Regions from separate parts of the Homo sapiens genome. Here all the other regions are linked to region 1. Evidence: promoter capture Hi-C in human tissues and cell types (Jung and others, 2019). All regions are on one chromosome and are shown on one strand. Each heading gives the region's core, a stretch centred on a gene start or on the middle of the fragment in contact. The rest is flanking DNA. Distances are from core to core; before and after follow the strand shown. Region 1 holds the start of FBXO27 (F-box protein 27). Region 2 overlaps RYR1 (ryanodine receptor 1). Region 3 holds the start of ACTN4 (actinin alpha 4). Region 4 overlaps SAMD4B (sterile alpha motif domain containing 4B). Region 5 overlaps SAMD4B (sterile alpha motif domain containing 4B).

Evidence for each region. Contacts are between HindIII fragments. The study calls those that stand out against the background at their distance.
Region 2: a fragment that was not itself captured here is called in contact with the fragment with the promoter of FBXO27 in region 1 in 1 of the 25 tissues and cell types used here (pancreas).
Region 3: the fragment with the promoter of ACTN4 here is called in contact with the fragment with the promoter of FBXO27 in region 1 in 1 of the 25 tissues and cell types used here (dorsolateral prefrontal cortex).
Region 4: a fragment that was not itself captured here is called in contact with the fragment with the promoter of FBXO27 in region 1 in 1 of the 25 tissues and cell types used here (psoas muscle).
Region 5: a contact is called between a fragment that was not itself captured here and the fragment with the promoter of FBXO27 in region 1, in 3 of the 25 tissues and cell types used here (aorta, dorsolateral prefrontal cortex and heart left ventricle).

The regions. Positions count from the first base shown.
Region 1 is chr19:39,031,229-39,033,958 of GRCh38, forward strand. FBXO27 (F-box protein 27) reads right to left here and starts at 1,321. Exons shown (of 6, transcript NM_178820.5): 1 at 1,275-1,321; 2 at 636-1,025; 3 at 1-92. The coding sequence starts at 999. RefSeq lists enhancers at 1-9, 416-1,208 and silencers at 118-300, 150-389, 540-619, 820-969, 1,030-1,099. The HindIII fragment of the contact is 13,585 bases long and covers 1-2,730 here.
Region 2 is chr19:38,581,759-38,584,488 of GRCh38, forward strand. The region is part of intron 101 of RYR1 (ryanodine receptor 1); the gene reads left to right. Among named protein-coding and RNA genes, the nearest start is that of MAP4K1-AS1, 13 kb to the right of the region's middle. RefSeq lists an enhancer at 2,151-2,400. The HindIII fragment of the contact is 5,920 bases long and covers 1-2,730 here.
Region 3 is chr19:38,646,240-38,648,969 of GRCh38, forward strand. It overlaps ACTN4 (actinin alpha 4), which reads left to right and starts at 1,410. Exons shown (of 21, transcript NM_004924.6): 1 at 1,410-1,668. The coding sequence starts at 1,507. RefSeq lists silencers at 1,250-1,439, 1,670-1,749. The HindIII fragment of the contact is 19,413 bases long and covers 1-2,730 here.
Region 4 is chr19:39,381,787-39,384,516 of GRCh38, forward strand. It overlaps SAMD4B (sterile alpha motif domain containing 4B), which reads left to right. Exons shown (of 14, transcript NM_001384574.2): 13 at 1,422-1,505; 14 at 1,713-2,730. The coding sequence ends at 1,741. Among named protein-coding and RNA genes, the nearest start is that of PAF1, 8.0 kb to the right of the region's middle. The HindIII fragment of the contact is 9,011 bases long and covers 1-2,730 here.
Region 5 is chr19:39,350,494-39,353,223 of GRCh38, forward strand. The region is part of intron 1 of SAMD4B (sterile alpha motif domain containing 4B); the gene reads left to right. Among named protein-coding and RNA genes, the nearest start is that of SAMD4B, 9.4 kb to the left of the region's middle. The HindIII fragment of the contact is 6,332 bases long and covers 1-2,730 here.

The DNA.
Region 1 (2,730 bases), core at 71-2,570:
CGTCTGAGAAGGGGCCCCAGGCACGGTTGTCCTGTTTTCCTCCACCACCCAGCCGTCCCCACCGTGTTGCACCATCCACTTTCGGAGGCCTTCTGTGAAATAAAAAAGGCTTGTGCCCAAGTTCCAGTCGCCCGCCTGTTGGTTCCTAGTGAGACCCCGCCCCTAGCCCCTCCCACGTGCTCACAGTGCAGCTCACTCACCTGACCCTTCCCACCGAGGCCCCGCCCCCTTCCCCTCCCACCAGCTCAGGGCAAAGCCCCGCTCCTCTGGCCCTTCTCACTGATTTGCAGCAAAGCCCTGCCCCTCCAACCCCTCTCTCGGGCTCCCAGAACTGCCCCACTCCCACCCCTCCCACAGGCAAACGGTGAAGCCCTGCCCAGTCAGCCCTGCACCCTGCGTGCCAATGCTGCCTCGTCCCTCCGACACCTCCCACCGGCTCCCAATGCTGCCCCGCCCCTCCGGCACCTCACACCGGCTCCCAATGCTGCCCCGCCTCTCCGACTCCTCCCACCGGTCCCACTGCGGCCCTGCCCCTGCGGCCCCTAGTACCGGTCCCAGTGCGGCCCCGCCCCTCCGGCCCCGCTACCGCTCCCACTGTGGCCCAGCATCCTGGACTTCCTCTTCCGAGATCCCACCTTGGCCGCAGGGGTTGCGAATAAGGTTGCGTCCGATGGGTCTGCGCGCGCAGAAGCGGCCCAGGGGGCAAGGCCTGGCGTTACGGGCGGGAGACTGGCAGCTGCGGGCGAGGTGCAGCAGCGCGCGGCCGGTGGCGCCGTGGTCGCGGGCCAGGATCAGCAGCCACAGGGCCTGGCCGTCCACCAGGGCTCGCCAGCCCCGGCACACTTGGCGGCAGCGCCCGAGCAGCGTGCGCGGGGGGACGTGGCTCAGCACCACCAGAAGCAGCTCTGGGGGTAGTTGGCTCAGGTCCAGCGCCTCTTCGGGTTCCGGCTCCGGCGCGGGGACCCGGGCGGCCCGGCCCCTGGAGACCGAGGCGCCCATGGTCCCCCCGCCAGGCCCGGCTGTGGCTGCGGGAGAGGAAGGGTCAAGGCGTCAGGGACCAGCAGCCTCCGCGGCGCGCAGCCTCTGCCTGCCCTGATTCTGCCAGCCGCACCCCCGTCTTCACCATCCCTGGGCCCCGTCCCCAAGTCCCCATCCCCCAGCCCGTCCTTGATAGCCCCGATATCCCGGAGACCCCGCGGTCTGTGTGTATGCCCCGAATTGCATGCAATCAGCCCCCCTCGGCGGCCGCACCGACACCGCACCCCAAGTCCTACCCCGGGGCCTGGCGGCGCTCCTCGCCGGGATGCCCTAGCTGTGCCGCAAGCTCCCCACGCCCCTCTGCGTCCTTTTTACTCGCCGGCCCCTCCCCTCTTACTAGCCAGCTTCACCCACCCCTGCATCCTCTTTCTTACTCGCCAGCCCCTCCCGCCTGCTCCCTCCCGCTCTCCAAACCCAACCTGCTTCCCGCGACGGGGCCAGGTGCAGCCAGGAGCCAAGGCCTGCTGCTCACAGCCGTCCCCTCCAGCCGGCCCCTTGAAGTGTCCCTAATTCGTTAGTAGCAATGAGACGTCTGGCTCTGAGCAACCATTGTTATTTTGGTCAGGCTTCTGAGTGGGAGGCCTCGTATCCGTTAACGTGTTAAAAAATTTCCATCACCTTTAAGGTCGGGCGTGGTTATCTTCATTTCACAGGAGAAAACAGGCTCCGGCTGCTAAAAATTAATGCAACCAATAGTAACACCAGCCAACTTTTATGGACGGTTTTACTGCCAGCCAGGGTGGCAACCCCATGAAGTAGGTGCTGTTATGCCCTTTACTTCACAGGTGAAAAAACTGAGACCAGCAGAGGCCAAGTGGCTTGTCTATGATCACCAGCTAGTAGGGATTTGAATCCAGCCAGCCTAGCTCCGGAATTCCTCATTTTAACCTCTAGATCAGCTCTGTCCAATAAAAATACAATTGTGGCTGGGTGCGGTGACTCATGCCCGTAATCCCAGCACTTTGGGAGGCCAAGGCAGGCGGATCGCTTGAGGTCAGAAGTTCGAGACCAGCCTGGCCAACATGGTGAAACCCCGTCTCTACTAAAAATACAAAAATTAGCTGGGCGTGGTAGCACGCGCCTGTAATCCCAGCTAATTTGGAGGCTTAGGCAGGAGAATTGCTTGAATCCGGGAGGGGGAGGTTGCAGTGAGCAGAGATTGCACCACTGCACTCCAGCCTGTGCAAAAGAGTGAGTGAGACTCCGTCTCAAAAAACAAACAGAAAAAAAAAATTGTGAAAGTTGATCATGTGAATTGGATCCTTCTTGTCATATCCAACTAAAACAAAGTTGAGAGGCCGGGGGGAAAACACTTAGGGCAGATACCATTGCTCCAAGAAAGTGATTCTCTGCAAGCCTGGCTGTTAAAACTGCCTGTTGTAACCTGGAAGCAGTCTAACTGGTACTGAAAAAACCTGCCGTGACTCTAAGACTAGTTTTTCCCTCTGCTGTCACTTACCAGTCAGAACTTGCCAGCTCCCCAGAACGTTGCTAGTGTCAATGAACTTTCTTGCAAAACAATACCTAACATTTCTGTTTCTTATAAAAACCTCTAACCTCTTTGTTCTTTGAAAGTTCTGAAGACCGCCTGGTCTGTGTGGATGCCTCGAATGTCAATTCTTGCTTCCCAAATAAAACATTTTATTATTTTTTTGAGACAGAGTCTCGCTCTGTCGCCCAGGCTGGAGGGCA
Region 2 (2,730 bases), core at 91-2,590, 450 kb before region 1:
CAGCTGATTTTTGTATTTTTAGTAGAGATGGAGGTGGGGGGGTCTCACAATGTTGGCCAGGCTTGTCTCGAACTCCTGACCTCAAATGATCCACCCACCTCGGCCTCCCAAAGTGCTGGGATTACAGATGTGAGCAACTGCACCCGGCCTTATTTGAGCTTTTCAAACTATTATTATTGGAAAGGTACTCAGGGAGCGTGCCCCTGCCACTTATGAGCCGTGTGATTTTGGGGCAGGCTACTCAACCTCCTCCCTATGCCCTGGGGGCCTCACCTGTAAAATGAGTGTGTAATAGTAGTTGCTTTTAGGACTAATAGGTGCTCCCTGGCTATCGAAGACTTAAAAGACTTAGACCATTGCCTTGCACGGTGGCTCATGCCTGTAATCCCAGCACTTTGGGGGGCTGAGGGGGGCAGATTACCTGAGGTTGGGAGTTTGAGACCGGCCTGACCAACATGGAGAAACCCCATATCTACTAAAAATACAAAATTAGCTGGGCATGGTGGCGCATGCCTGTAATCCCAGCTACTCGGGAGGCTGAGACAGGAGAATCACTTGAACCCGGGAGGTGGAGGTTGCCATGAGCCGAGATTGCGCCACTGCACTCCAGCCTAGGCAACGAGAGTGAAACTCCGTCTCAAAAAAAAGGAAAAAAAAAAAGACTTAGACTAGTGCCTGGCACATCCTCAGGATTATATAGATGTTAGCTTCTATCATCATTATCCACAATTAAAAGTTTCACCCAGGCCGGGCGCAGTGACTCACGCCTGTAATCCCAACACTGTGGGAGGCTGAGGCAAGAGGATTGCTTGAGCTTAGGAGTTTGAGGTTGCAGTGTGCTATGACTGCGCCACTGCACTCCAGCCTGGGTAACACATTGAGACTCTGTGTCAAGTTTAAAAAAAAGTTTCACCCAAGGTATACCCAGCGTTCAATGCACATTTATATTTTCTCTTCTATTCTAATAATGGTGATCATAACCCAAATTGATGCGAACTTACTAGAGACACAGGCCACAATCCACAATTAAAAGAATCATTTCTGGGGTTTATCTCCAAAGATGTCCTGCAGTCTGGCTCCGTGGGTTCCTCCCTGCTCTCAGGACAAAGTCCAGCTCCTCAACCTGACATCTGAGGCTCTTCCAGACACGGCCTCGCTGCCCACAGCCTCGTTCTCATTATAGTCACTTATCTTAGTTTTTACTCTAGGATGACTGTGTTCTCTCACATCCTGGGGACACGGAAAGAACAAGTGTATGCCGGGCGCTGTGGCTCACGCTTTTAATCCCAGCATTTTGGGAGGCCAAGGCAGGTGGATCATCTGAGGTCAAGAGTTTGAGACCAGTCTGGCCAACGTGGTGAAACCCTGTCTCCACTAAAAATACAAAAATTAGTGGGATGTGGTGGTGGGCGCCTATAATCCCAGCTACCTGGGAGGCTGAGGCAGGAGAATCTCTTGAACCCCGGAGGCGGAGGTTGCAGTGAGCCGAGATCACGCCATTGCACTCCAGCCTGGGCAACAAGAGCAAAACTCCATCTCAAAAAAAAAAAAAAAAGAAAAAAGTACAAAAATTAGCTGGGTGGGGTGACACGCACCTGTATTCCCGACTACTCAGGAGGCTGAGGCAGGAGAATCTCTTGAACTCGGTGGTGGAGGTCGCAGTGAGCCAATATTGCACCACAGCACTCCAGCCTGGGCAACAGAGCAAGACTCTGTCTCAAAAAAAAAAAAAAACATATGTAAAGTTGTTCCCAAATGCCAGGTAGACCATGCTCCCTCCCCACCCCCACTCAGACCCTTCTTGTGGCTCCCCAGCCCACTGTAGATAAAGTCGAATCACCCTGCCGTGGCTTACAAAGCCTGGGAAGGGCTGGCCCTGCCTGGGTCTAACCGCAAACCCTCTTGCTTTTTGCTTTCTAGCCGCCTGGTCCTCTTTCAGTTCCCCTAGGACTGTGTGTTTTCTCCCAATTCAAGCCCTTTGCACCTGATGTTCTCTCTGTCCCCTACCCCAGGCCTGACATACACACACACCCCATTCACTTGATACCTCACCTTTCCACTTAAATGCCACATCCTACAGGAAGCCCCTTGACCGCGGGCTGGGCCAGGGCCCACAGAGCCACATGCCCAGGCCCTGCCTCATCTCTCCCTGCTCTCCTGCACAGGAGCTCTATTTTCCAGCCTCACCCAACCATTTTCAGTTCCTCACAGCAGCAGGATGTACTCTTTCCTCACTGATGGCGAGGCAGCATGTGGCCTTCTCTGCTGGGAACACTCTCCCACCACCCCTCCACCTAAGGCCTCCTTTAGGTTTCAGCTCACACCTGCCTCCTCTTCCAGGAAGCCTCACCTGATCACCTAGGCTGGATCAGATGCCTCCAGCGGGCTGTTAAAGCTTCCAGTGCTTCCCCTAGCTCATCCCTGGTCACACTGTGCCTCCCCACCCCAGCCTCGACCCTCTGCCTGTGCCCCTCCCATCCTCGCCCTCACCCTTCTGCCTGTGCCCCCCTATCCTGGCCCTGATCCCTACACCTGTGCCCCCCCCCACCCATCCCGGCCCTCATCCCTCCGTCTGTGCCCCCCATCCATCCCGGCCCTGACCCCTCTGCCTGTGCCCCACTATCCTGGCCCTAACCTCTCAGCCTGTACCCTCCATCCTGGCCCTGACCCCTCTGCCTGTGCCCCCCACCCAACCTGGCCCTGACCCTTCTGCCTGTACCCCCCATTCCA
Region 3 (2,730 bases), core at 160-2,659, 380 kb before region 1:
TGGAATATACAATACTACCTATTTTTTACTTTTATGTATATTTTTGAGACAGGATTTCGCTTCTGGAGTGCATTGGTGTGATCACAGCTCACTGCAGACTGGAACTCCTGGGCTCAAGTGATGTCCCTTCCTCAGCCTCCTGAGTAGCTGGGACTACAGGTGCACACAGCCATGCCCAGTGAATTTTTACATTTCTTGTAGAGACAGGTTCTTGTTATGTTGCCTAGGCTGGCCTTGAACTCTTGGGCTCAAGCCATCCTCCCGCCTCAGCTTCCCAAAGTGCTGGGATTACAGGTGTGAGCCCCTGTGCCTGTCTACATATTTTTTAAAATTTTGAGTGTTGAGGCCAGGCGCAGTGGCTCATGCCTGTAAGCCCAGCACTTTGGGAGGCCGAGGTGGGCGGATCACCTGAGGTCGGGAGTTTGAGACCAGCCTGACCAACATGGAGAAACCCCGTCTCTACTAAAAATACAAAATTAGCCAGGAGTGGTGGCACATGCCTGTGATCCCAGCTACTCGGGAGGCTGAGGCAGGAGAATAGCTTGAACCTGGGAGGCGGAGGTTGCAGTGAGCCCAGATCACGCCATTGCACTCCAGCCTGGGCAACAAGAGCGAAACTCCGTCTCAAAAAAAAAAATTTGTGTGTTGGTTGGGCGCGGTGGCTCACGCCTGTAATTCCAGCACTTTGGGAGGCTGAGGCGGGAGGATCGCTTGAGCTCAAGAGTTCAAGACCAGCCTGGCCAACATGGTGAAACCCCGTCTCTACTAAAAAAATACAAAAATTAGCCGGGTGTGGTGGAGCATGCCTGTGTTCCCAGCTACTCGGGAGGCTGAGGCAGGAGAATTGCTTGAATCCGGGAGGCGGAGGTTGCAGTGAGCCGAGATCGCGCCACTGCACTCCAGCCTGGGAGACAGAGCGAGACTCCGTCTCAAAAAATAATAAAAATAAAAGTAGATTTGTGTGTATGTGGCTTCCTTTACTAGAAGGTAGTTTCATGAAAGTTGGGATTTTTTTCTGTTTTTAGTGCCTGCGTAAAACATAGTCTGGCACAGAATAGGTGTTCAATAAATATTTGTTGAATTTGTGTCGCTGAATGGGAACCCGGTGCAGTGCATTCCAAGCCTGAGCTGGTTCAGGTCCGATGGCGGGGCCTGCCCTTATGAATCATTCATGATCTGGCCCCGCCCATACGCGAACGACGCGCGCGTTCACGCCGGAGAGGGGGCGCGGCTCGCCCCCGGGCTGAGTCGGGCGGCCAGGAAGCGGGACTCTGCGCAGGCGCCAAGCTCCGGAGCGCGGCCTTGGTGCCTTTTCTGGTTTGGCAGGCGCGCGCGCGCGGGAGGGCGGCAACCTCGGCGCTGTGCGCAGGCGCGGCGGGCAGTGCGCAGGCGCGGGCGGAGGGCGGGCTGAAGCAGCTGAAGCGGCGGTAGCGGCGGCGGCTCGGGCAGAGGGGCGGGAGCTGAGGCGGGAGCGGACAGGCTGGTGGGCGAGCGAGAGGCGGCGGAATGGTGGACTACCACGCGGCGAACCAGTCGTACCAGTACGGCCCCAGCAGCGCGGGCAATGGCGCTGGCGGCGGGGGCAGCATGGGCGACTACATGGCCCAGGAGGACGACTGGGACCGGGACCTGCTGCTGGACCCGGCCTGGGAGAAGCAGCAGCGCAAGGTGCGCGGCCCGCGGGCCGGACGGGCTGGAGGGGCTTTTCTGAGGGGGCCCGGGGAGGGGTGGGAGGTCCTGAAAGGTAACTGGAGCGTCTGTGATGGGAACGGGGGGGTCCCGAGAAGGAATTGGCGGGTCCGGGAAGGGAATTGGAGTCCTGAGGAGGAATCGCCGAGCTAGAGGAAGGAATTGGGAATCTGAAAAGAGAATTGGCGGCTGGGTGGGGAATATGGGAGTCAAATAAAAGGAATCGGGAAGGCTGATGAAGGATTTGGAGGGTCTGGGCGTGCCATTAGGGGAAACCGAGGAGATGACTGGGCAGGCTGAAATGGAACTGGGATCCGAGGCGGGCTTGAAGGGTCGGAGCATGGGTTGGGGGTGCTGGGAGGAGAATCAGGGGAGGCTGAGAAGGGAATTTCTGGGTCTGGGAAGTGTGAGGAGGAGCTTGAGTGTGGAGGGGTTGGTTATTTGGAGAGCAGAAAGATCTGAAGGAGATTGGAATTGGGGGAGCCTCAGGTTGGGGGAGTTATAAAGGGGATGAAGAATCAAGTGTGAGGATGGAGTGGAGATTGTGGGGTCTGAAGACGGGTGGGAAGACTAGGGAGGCTGGGAAGATGAAAACAGGGGCTAAGGGTAGAATTGAGCATGAAAAGACATGGGCTTAGGGTGTGAGGAGGGTAGAGGTGCCAGGACTGGGGGTCTGAGGAGGGTGGGGTGCGGAAGGAAGAAGTTAAGGGGCCCGTGAATCAGACGTTTTTGAAGGGGGTGAGATTTATTTGTGGTGCCCTGTTCCAAAGGGGAGAAGATTAAGAGATAGGAGGAATAATAAGAGGAATTGATGAGGGATGGAGAAGCCGAAGTAGAGGGGATACGGAGAGTGGGGATAATTTGGGGAGGGATTTCTAAAGAATTGATGGGAAGCTGAAAAGCTAAAGCGTTGGAGAGAATGAGGAAGTGTAGAGGGAGAAGGTGAGATCGGTGGGAGGGAGGGTGAGCTGGAATGGTGGATAATGGGAGAGAGGTTCGTTTAGGAAAATGAAAGTCTCATTAGAAAGGGAATGCGTAATG
Region 4 (2,730 bases), core at 91-2,590, 350 kb after region 1:
CTGGGCATGGTGGCACACACCCGTAGTCCCAGCTACTCGGGAGGGTGAGGCAGGAGGATCGCTTGAGCCCAGGAGGTCAAGGCTGTAGTGAGCAGAGATTGTGCCACTGCACTGCAGCCAGGGCGACAGTGAGACCCCATCTCAAAAAGATGTTGGGACAAGTGGGCAAAAGGAAGATTAGAGACTTGCTAACCGCAGGTCCCTGCCCTGCTCAACAAGTGAGGGGTTGACTCCTCCACACGGTGCTGGCCACTGGGGCTGCAGAGACAGATAAGGCTCGTCTGGAATGGGCTGACTCTAGAGAGAGCATGGATTTGCAGAATTCATGTCATAAACTGCCAAGTCAGTCAGGAGTCTTACTTGATGAGGTTGTGTAGACAGCCATCTGTTGAGGCCGTGGGAACCCATCCATCATGTTCATCCTAGCACAGGGCTTGACACACAGTAGGCATCTGTAAATGATGTTAAACAAGCAGGTGGATGAACCGCAGGAATGAACAAGAACCATTCTCTTTACCAGCATGCTGTGTCCCAGGCTTTGTCAGACAGCTCTCCTGCACTGATTGACTCCTCCCAACTGTATGTGTAAGGACGCTGATGTTATTCATCAGTCAGCAATCTGAGACAGGTCTTGCCCAAGTTCAAAAAAAAAATTCTTTTTTTTAAGGAGAGACAATTGGGTGATCTGATACGACATGAGCTCAGGGTTCAGAGGGAACAGTGATGAGAGATGAGGGTGGAGATGGGAGCTGGGTCGTCTAAATCCAGGTAAACAGCTCGGACTTTGTCCTGATGGCAGTGAGGAGTCAGGGAAGGGTTTAAGCAGTGTAGTGAGGGAGGTCAGGTCTGCCCAGGGAGGTGGGTGGTTTCCCAGATGCCCGAATAGGAGGCCCTTTTGAGAAGTGTGGTTTGAGGACAAGTCCCATGGTGGTTGTCCTACTTTGCCCCCACCTGCCTGGCCTGCCTGGATTGAATCCTGCCCAGAGGAGCAGGTCCAAGTGGGGACAGGAAGGGTTTTGATTTAGCTTTTGCACCAAGTACAGAGCAGGTCTTCAATCAGGGAGCCTTGGGGGCTGCCCAGTGTCCAGGGCAGATGCCCAGACTGTGCTCAAGACAGTATGCAGTCTGTGTCCAGAGTAGTCACAGCAGGCTGTGTGTGGCCTCCAGGAGCTCCTTCAGTTTCAATTCCACTCTCTGCAAGTCGGGCTTTTTCTGTATTGCCAAGCCTCTGCCATTGCCATTGTCTCCTCTGCCTGTTGTGTGACACGCTCGCCTCTCTCCCTGTCCACCTCCTCCCGTTCTTCCCTCTCCCCCTCCATCTCTCTTGCTCCCTTCCCATACCAGCATCCTTTGTCATCCCAGCTGTCTTCACCTGAGTCCAGTTGGTCCTTACCACCCCCATTCTCCTCTCTCCCACCCAGACTGCCCGGTTCCTGGGCCTGACCTGGAGATCAATCCCACTCTGGAGTCTCTGTGTCTGAGCATGACAGAACACGCCTTGGGTGGTGAGCATTTCCTCTTTCCCTGACCCAGCTCCCACCTACCCAGCGTCTCTGCCTCTGAACTGAGCAACTCAGAGTCATCCTGAGGGGTCCCCAGGGGAGGCCAGACTCCAGGGAGGGCCTGACTGGGATGACAGGCTACCTGAGTGCCTTTTCTTGGGCCTCCCTCCAGCTCCTGATCTTCCTCCCTTCCTCCCTTTCTTACCACAGATGGGACAGACAAAACCTCCACCATCTGACGGGACCCACAGCCCAGCGCACCCATAGGCTCCCTGGGCGGCGGGCGGGGGCCAACCCCCAACGGGCTTCTCCGCGACAGCGAGAGGGTGGGCTGGCTCAGCTATATATTCTAATATTTTTCTACTCTCTTACCCTCTTAACTTTTGTTTAACATTGGCACATGCCTTGCTCACTCCCAGGCCCGTCGAGGGATCTCTGCTGAGGCCCGGGGAGTTGGGGGCAGCCAGGATAAAGGGGGCAGGGACTGGCCAGACTGCCTGCCTCTCTCCTTTCCTTCCTCATCCCCACCTGGTCCCATCCCACCCCTGCCTCCTCCAGACCGCTGACCACCTGCCTCTCCCCAAGGGAGCAGACTCCCCAGAGACAAACTGACCACTACCTTGTGGAGCCTGCTCAGAAACATTTGACATTTGGGGTGACGCGCAGGGCAGAGAACCTGCCCTCCAGAATGTTATTGAGAGGAGCTGGGGAGAAGGAAGGGGAGCAAGGAGAGGAAGCTCTCTCTCCTCTCCCTGCTTCCCCTTCACCATTCCCCACATTCTGCAAGGACAGGAGCCACCTTCCTCTCTCTCACCTCCCCTGGCCCTGTTCACCAGAGGTTCTCTATGATTAATTTCTTAGGCCTATTTAAGATACATATTTATATAGTTCTTAACGGTTTTTCTCTGATCATTTCCTCTCATTTTTAGAATCCCCAGGTCTCTCTCAGCCAAGACAGTGGCAGGGAGAGCCTGAACTTTATGAGGGGAGAGGGCAGAGCCCCCTCCTCCAGACCCTCAAGCTCTAACCCATTTTCCTCCAGCCCTGGCTACCCGGATGAAGAGGTTGGAGGTGGGCAGCCAGGGTAGCCAGTGAGGTCAGGAAGTCTGTTGCCTTAACGTCCCCTTCCCCACGAACACACACCCTTCTCCGCTCCCAGGTCTGGTTGGTGAGACTTGGGAGTCAGGAATAAGGGAAAGGGGATTGTTTGGTTTTTGGGTTTTTCCCT
Region 5 (2,730 bases), core at 153-2,652, 320 kb after region 1:
TTTTGTTTTTGTTTTGAGACAAAGTCTCCAGTCCCCCAGGCTGGAGTGCAGTGGCGCAATCTCAGCTCACTGCAACCTCCACCTCCCAGGTTGAAGCGATTCTGCTGCCTCAGCCTCCTGAGTAGCTGGGATTACAGGCGCCTGCCACCACGCCCAGCTGATTTTTTGTATTTTTAGTAGAGACAGGGTTTCACCGTGTTGGCCAGGCTGGTCTCGAACTCCTGACCTCAGGTGATCCGCCCGTCTCGGCCCCCCAAAGTGCTGGGATTACAGGCGTGAGCCACCGTGCCCAGCCTTTCTCCAGGTGGGAGTGCAGTGGCATGATCTCAGCTCACTGAAGCCTCGACCTCCAGAACTCAAGTGATCCTCCCAAAGTAGCTGGGACTGCAGGTGCACACCACCACGCCCAGCTAATTTTTGGATTTTTTGTAGAAACGGTTTTGCCATGTTGCCCAGGCTGCTGATCTGGAACCTTTGGCTTTTGTTTTGTTTTGTTTTTGTTTTTTGAGACAGGGTCTCACTCTGTTGCCCAGGCTGGAGTGCAGTGGCACGATCTTGGCTCACTGCAACCTCTGCCTCCCGGGCTCAAGTGATTCTCCCGCCTCAGTCTCCCAAGTAGCTGGGGTTACAGGTGCACGCCACCACGCCTGGCTAATTTTTTTGTAATTTTTGTAGAGACGGGGTTTCACTGTGTTGCCCAGGCTGGTCTCGAGCTCCTGAGCTCAAGCGATCCACCCGCCCATGCCTCCCAGAGTGCTGGGATTACAGGCGTGAGCCACTGCACCCAGCCCTCTTAGCCATTTTGTTAACCTCATTTCCCACCTCTGGAGGTGGTAGGGGCTTCCCAAGAAGATCACTTGGACCTCTTCAAGTATGGTGGCAATATTGCTGGGCTGTTGGAGAGACTTCTGTTATAGAGGCTCCCCTCTTGTGTTTTTCCTCAAAGGCAAGGAGTCATTTTTGGTCACATGAGGACAAAGAGACCAGACCAGTAGTGCATTCTGTTTTGCATGGGAATTGTCAAGGCTCTTTCAGTTTTAACTGAAACCCAACTCAAACTGGCCTAAGTCAAAAACGAATTTATTCATCTATGTAACTGAAAAGAGTGGGCCACAAGGGGGAGGCTTCAGGCTAGCTGCATCTAGGTTTTAAATCATGTGAACAGATCTCCCTTTCCCCCTCCCCCATCTCTTGACTTTGCTGTCATCTGTTAGTTTCATTCTGAAGCAGGCTTCCACCGTGAAATAGAAGAGGTGGCAACTGGTGACATCATGAGACGATGTGTAATCTGAGCAACCCTAACCAAGAACTTATTTTCCTTAGTAGTTCCAGCAAAAATCCAGAGAGGACTATCCTTGGCCAGGCTTTACCCCATGTCCACTTCTGGAGCCAAGAAAGACAGTTCCTTCTCCAAGGGGAACCCAGGGTGTTGATACTAGAAGATGGAAATGGATACAGTAAGATGCTGCCACAGTGAGATGCCTCACCCAGGTCTCCCTCTGTCACTTCAGCCAAGCACATGGGATAGAAAGTAGCAGGCGGCCTCTGGCCCTTTAATGGAAGAGGGCCATCCAGTCCTCTCCAGTTAACATCTAGACCGAACACAAAGCATCCTTCTCTCATCCAGAAGACATAGGAACCCTACCTTCAGGGATGATTTTTTTTTAACAGTGAAATCTTAAAAGTAACTGTTTCACTAAAGCCTCCAGTATTTACTGAAGACTGTCAGAATCATCCTCCATCACTAGATCTTCTCCACCAGTCATGTTCCCTGAGCAGTGGGGTGGCTTGAAGGTATAAACCAGAGAGGCCCAAGGGAGGGATAGTTAGCAGACTTCTGGTCTTTTTCTAGTTTGTGCTCTTCTGTTCCAAGGACCACAGGTATGTCTTCTTCTGTGTAGTTGTTCACTATTGTTTCAATGTGATTCGTTTCCCACATTTGAAAATAGGGGGGGATTTTACTTTAAAATTCAGATATCTGGCTCCTCTTTAGGGGAAAAAAAAAAAAAAAAAAACCTAAGACGTAACAATACTGGACCCACATTCCTTCATGGTAGCAGTTGATAAGAGGTGGATAGTGACTTCTCCCTTTTGACCGGGTGTGGACTTTCCAACTCACCATAGTCCCAGTTGGCCTGCTTTGTTCAAAGCCTGGCCTTGTAAGCATCATGTTTGAGACCCTATTATGTCCGAAAGCTTTGCTTCTATCGTTTGGCCTGGGGGGAAAAGCTGGATTAATGTTTAGTCAGCAGCTTATTGGGTGGGTGGAGGGGGGGAACAGTGCTGTTGCTTAGGAAAAGTAACAACCCAGTAAAAGAATTTATGGGAAAGAGTGTGCACAACTTTGGTCTGTTTGTGGATTTGGTCGTTTTTTTGCTGTAAATGCTGTTGGTATATCAAACCTCCTGTCACAAATGTTCCCTCTGAAATAGTAACATGTCCTTCTATCTTATGAGTTGCCACCCAGTGAAGGAATCCCTCCCACTCCCGAGGGATGTTCATCCAGCCTCCGCTTGACCACTTCCAGCAGCCAGGGAGCTTATTACCTCCTCACATGGCAGCCAGTTCCATTCTTGGACAGATGCGTTATTTTAAAATTCTTCCTTATGTTGAAGCAGCTGCTGCCTCTTTGGGACTGAAAGCCACAAAATGCTGGAGCTGGGAAGGAAAACCGATTTTTTTAGGCGCGTGAGCTACCACTCATCCACCCTGCATCCAGGGCAAACATTG